2 separate regions of the Homo sapiens genome follow, and region 1 is linked to region 2. The links are contacts of gene promoters, found by promoter capture Hi-C in human tissues and cell types (Jung and others, 2019). All regions are on one chromosome and are shown on one strand. The core of a region is centred on a gene start or on the middle of the fragment in contact, and the rest is flanking DNA. Distances in the headings are between cores, read along the strand shown. Region 1 has its middle 70 kb from the start of LINC00839. Region 2 holds the start of FXYD4 (FXYD domain containing ion transport regulator 4).

What was found. The method cuts DNA at HindIII sites, captures the fragments that hold promoters and counts their contacts. A contact is called where the count stands out against the background at its distance.
Region 1: a fragment that was not itself captured here is called in contact with the fragment with the promoter of FXYD4 in region 2 in 1 of the 25 tissues and cell types used here (dorsolateral prefrontal cortex).

Annotation. Positions count from the first base shown.
Region 1 is chr10:42,544,090-42,546,789 of GRCh38, reverse strand. It overlaps the pseudogene ZNF37BP. Among named protein-coding and RNA genes, the nearest start is that of LINC00839, 70 kb to the right of the region's middle. The HindIII fragment of the contact is 4,235 bases long and covers 1-2,700 here.
Region 2 is chr10:43,370,365-43,373,064 of GRCh38, reverse strand. FXYD4 (FXYD domain containing ion transport regulator 4) reads right to left here and starts at 1,429. Exons shown (of 9, transcript NM_173160.3): 1 at 1,368-1,429; 2 at 293-338. The HindIII fragment of the contact is 15,718 bases long and covers 1-2,700 here.

The DNA of each region.
Region 1 (2,700 bases), core at 149-2,648, 830 kb after region 2:
CATTTTACCATACATGCATGGGTTTTCAAGATTATTTTGGCTAGTTGAGATCCCTTGAAATTCTATGTAAACTTCAGGATGATTTATTTCTATTTCTGTTACTATGTCTTCTTTGTAGACTTAGTTTTTTTTTTTTTTTAATCAATATGTAGTGTTTTTCTCTTGTAACAATTTTTGATTTAAAGTCTCTTTTGTCTCAGTATAGCCACCCTGGCATTCTTTAGGTTACTATCCTCTTCTGTCATTTCAATTTCAACCTATTGTGTTGTGTGTTTGTATCTAAAGAGAGTGTCTTGTAGACAATATATACCTGGATCATATATTTTTATTTATTTTGCCAATTTATTTTTATTTTTATTATTTATTTTATTTTATTTTTTTTTTGAGACAGAGTCTTACTGCATCACCCAGGCTGGAGTGCAGTGGTGCGATCTTGACTCTCTGCAACCTCTGCCTCCAGCGTTCAAGCAGTTCTTCTGCCTCAGCCTCCCGAGTAGCTGGGATTACAGGTGTACACCACTACACCTGGCTAATTTTTGTATTTTTTTTTTTTTTTTAGTAGAGATGGGGTTTCACTGTATTGGTCAGGCTGGTCTCAAACTCCTGACCTCGTGATCCGCCCACCTCAGCCTCCCAAAGTGCTGGGATTACAGGTGTAAGCCACCATGCCCAGCCTATTTTGCCAATTTCTGTCTTTTAGTTGGGAGTTTAGTTTATTTACATTTAGAGTAAATTATAAACTGATAAAGGACTTATACCATTTTGCTATTTGTTTTCCATACGTATTACATCTTTTTTGTTTTCAGTTTTTCTGTGTATGCCTTCTTTTGTGTTTGTTTTTTTCTAATGTGCCATTTTAATTCCTTTTGTATTTGTTTGTAGTCATTATTTACCTAGTGTTAATACTTGGAATTGCAATTAGCATCTTGAATTTATAACAATCTAGCTTGCATTAATACTAACTAAGCCTTAATATTATATAAAAACTCTCCTCCTATACGGCTTTGTCCCTGTCCTTTGTCTTCTTATTGTCTCATTTTATGCCTTCATAAATAGCGTGCACATTACCATAGATTTATAATTATTGTTTTATGTATTTGTCTTTTAAATCATATAGAAAAAAGAGAGAACATAAAAGCCAAGAATACAATAAGACTGGCTTTTGCATTTACTTACAGTAGTTACTTTTACCATTTGAATTTTTTGTGTGTTTCGATTGGAGTTACTGTCTAATGTCCTTTTGTTTCAACCTTAAGGACTTCCTTTTGCATTTCTTGTAGGACAGATCTAGTACTAATAAATTCTCTCAGATTCTGTTGATCTAGGAATGTTTTAATTTCTCTTTCATTTTTGAAAGGCAGTTTTGCCAAATGTAGAATTTTTGATATATATTTTTTTTCTTTTGGCACTTGAAAGGTGCCATTATCCTACTGCCTCTGGCCTTCATGGTTCCTAATAAAAGTCTGGCTGTTAATCTTATTTCAGATCCTTTGTACATGGTTAGTCCCTTATCTCTTGCTACTTTTGAGATTCTTTGTCTTGTGACAATTTATTATTTCTCTCAGTTTGAAGTTCTTTGAGCTTATCCTAATTATAGTTTCTTGAGAGTCTTGGGCATAGAGATTCATGTCTTTCATCAGTTTAGAAGGTCTTCAGACATTATTTCTTCAGATATTTTTGGTTCCCTTTTCTCCTCTTCATTAGCAACTCTTGTTATTAACTTGTTGGTATGCTTGATGTTGTCTCATAGATCTCTTAGGCACTGTCCATTTTTCACCATTCTTTTTCTCTGCTCCACAGAATGAGTAATCTCCATCAGTGTCTTCAATTTTGCTGATTCTTTGTTCTCTTTGAGCTCCAATCTTTTATTAAATCCTTTGACTGATTTTAAAAAAATTTAGTTTTTGTACTTGTCAGCTCCAGACATTCCTAATTACATTTTTGTAATTTTGTTCTGTATATTAATATTTTATATTTGGCAGGGCATCGCTCACCTGCTTTCTGTTAGTTGTCTGGTTTCATTTAGCTTTTTGTGCACATTTAGAACAGTTGATTTAAATTCTTTATCTAGTAAGACCAATAACAAAGGTGTCTTTGAGGACAGGTTTTATTCATTTCTTTTTTCTGTGTGTCTGTGGGTCATATTATCTTCTTTGCATTCCTCATAATTTTTTATTGAAAACTGAACATTTTGAATATTAAAATGTGTTAATTCTAGAAATCAGATTCTTTTCCCCAGAATTTGTTGTTGCTGTTTATTTTGCATTGTTTGTTTATTTTGTGACTTTTCAAAACTATTTTTGTAAAGTTCTTTGTTGTACATGGTCACAGAAACCTCTGTTCCCTTAGTTTAGTGGTCAGTTTGTGATCTGACAGAGATTTCTTTAAATGCCCAAAGCCAAAACAAAACAAAAAACTATTCTGGTCTTTGCATATTTGCCCTGTTTTAGGGCGCTCTTGTAATGGTTTGCCAGGCCATTTACATCTCTGTGTAAAGCTTTACTTCCTGCTTACACTGAGCCTGAAGGTCAACCAGACTGAAAGCTTAGGTTCCTCTCAGGTTTTTTGTGAGCGTGCATATTGCCCTGGCCTTGCACATGACCTCAATTCCCTGGTTTATGCAGGAGCTTTTCAAACCCCTTATCCCCACCCCGGCCCCCATGTATTTCCTTCCCAGTTTTTCCACTCCCAGTTTTATCA
Region 2 (2,700 bases), core at 180-2,679:
AGGGGACCCTACTCCAGCAGACCCAGATTCTGCTCTCAGAGTATAGACCTCCTGTGGTATGACATTTCCCCCTCAGGTTGGAAGTAGCCAGGACCCCATTTACTTGTCCTTAGGGAGGCTGAGTCTTTGAGCGCAGGCCCCCTCCCAGCCCTCTGCATATTGTTAGCCTAGTGTGGTCAAGTTTTCAATACTGAAGCCATTGTCATCATCTGCTGTACCCAGCTCTGGCCTCCTGATGAGATCACAGATCCAGGGCCAGCTGTCTGGGCTGGGTCCCTTCTTAGCAACTTACCAACTGTGTGACTCTGCAGGTTCCTCACTGCTCCTTCACCAGTGTCCTGTAAAAGGAGGATCATCAGAATAGTAGCAACCTCATAAGGTTATAGCGATGGAATTACGTGAACTACTATTTGTCAAGCCTAAGAACTATGCCTAGCACACAGTAAGCACTAAAAACCTGTTACAATAAATACATCCATAGGCCGGGCGCAGTGGCTCACACCTATAATCCCAGCACTTTGGGAGGCTGAGGCGGGTGGATCACCTGAGGTCAGGAGTTCAAGATCAGCCTGGCCAACATGGCAAAACCCCATCTATACTAAAAATACAAAAATTAGCTGAGTGTGGTGACAGGCGCCTGTATTCCCAGCTACTTGGGAAGCTGAGGCAGGAGAATCACTTAAACCTGGAAGGTGGAGGTTGCAGTGAGCCGAGATCCTGGCACTGCACTCCAGCCTGGGCAACAGAGGGAGACTCCATCTCAAAATAAATAAATAAATACATCCATAAATAAACACATGGTCCTTCTGCAGTGGGAGGGAGGCACTGGAGGGAGAGACTGTTAGGCACTGCTTCTGAACATCGGTTCTTGGGCTAGGAGCAGTCTCCAAAGCTGGCTTCCCCCAGCCTTCACTGGTCTCTCTACCTTCACCAACCTGGAGTTCCTGGAATACGAGGGTCTCAACTCTAGGTCACATTTTTTATTTTATTATTATTATTATTACTATTTTTTTTTTTTTTGAGACAGGGTCTTGCTCTGTTACCCAGGATGGAGAGCAGTGGCGTGATCTCGGCTCACTGCAGCCTTGAACTCTCTTGGCTCAGGTGATCTCCTCACCTGAGTATCTCAAGCAGTTGGGACCAGAGGTATACCCCACCAGCTCATATATTCTTTAGCCAAGGGCTGGCTTCTGTTTCCTCCAACCCCCAACCCACCATCCATATGATAGTGGGTGCAAAGCAGGAGGCCTTCAAGCGGCTGCTGCAGCCATATCTGTCCTCAGACCCCTCAACAGGCTCCTCATTACTCAGAATTCTTGGGCACCCACCCCCTTCACCCAGCAGCCCCAAAGTGGACGCCTGCTCACCTGCGAGGTCACCTTGGCGAGGGCTCACCTGAGCTGGCAGCGCAGAGAACGGATCTGAGGAGGCTGCTGGGCACGTGGGTCGGCTCTTTAAACCCTGCAGCCACGCCCAGGGCTCCATGACGCAGGCTGGAGGGAACTGGTCAGGCTCCCTGCCACACCCAGGGCTGTTGGGGAGGGGCGGGCTGGGCCGAAGACCCTCTTTTGGCTTCTTTTTTTTTTTTTTTTTTTTTTTTTTTTCTTTTTTTGAGATGGAGTCTCACTCTGTCACCCGGGCTGGAGTGCAGTGATGCAATCTCAGCTCACTGCAACCTCTGCCTCCTGGGTTCAAGCAATTCCCCTGCCTCAGGCTCCCGAGTAGCTGGGACTACAGGTGCACGCCACCACACCTGGCTAATTTTTTTTGTATTTTAGTAGAGATGGGGTTTCAATGTGTTGCCCAGGCTGGTCTCCAACTCCTGAGCTCAGGCAATCCGCCCACCTCGGCCTCCCAAAGTGCTAGGATTACAAGCGTGAGCCACCGCGCCCAGCCTTTCTTTTGGCTTCTTTAGCTCACCCAGATCCTAAAAGAGGGACCTGGAGGGTGCTGGGCAGGGTGTTCCTGGGCTCTTGTGCCAGCTTTGGGGGTTCTGGGACCTCTGTGTGGGGGTGTCCTGGGGACCACGGAGGATACCAGGAGCCAGGCACTGACCTTGAGGCTCCCTGTGCTCAGCAGTGCCATGCCACTGCTGTCACTTGGGCTGGGTGTCTACTGAAGGGAGGCTGGTGGCCGATGGGCACCCCCGGGGGTGGCTCACCCTCTGACAGGGCCCTGACACCCACTTAGCCTCCCCCACAGGTGAGGGATGGGGCCAGGAGGAGGATAGACGCCCCCGGCTGAGGAGTGGGCTGCCTCCCTCTGCAGACCTCAGGCCTGCCTTGTTGCTGGGGGCCAAAGTCACCCCACACAGGCGTGTGGAGGACCCCAGGCCTCCCTAGTCTGCTGTTACCCCTCCTTAATTCTTTTCCAAATGAGGGACACTTGTCCCTGTCCAGAAGGTAAGGGGGGATGGCTGACAAGGGATGGGGGTCTCTGGGCTGGGAGGGCTGGGGAGGGCAATGATGGTTTAGTTGGTTTGTTTGTTTATTTATATATTTATTTTTGAGCTGGAATTTCGCTCTGTCGCCCAAGCTGGAGTGCAGTGGCTCGATCTTGGCACACCACAACCTCCACCTCCCAGGTTCAAGCAATTCTGTCTCAGCCTCCCGAGTAGCTGGGATTACCGGCACACACCACTGTGCCCAGCTAATTTTTGTATTTTTAGTAGAGATGGGATTTCGCTATGTTGAGCAGGCT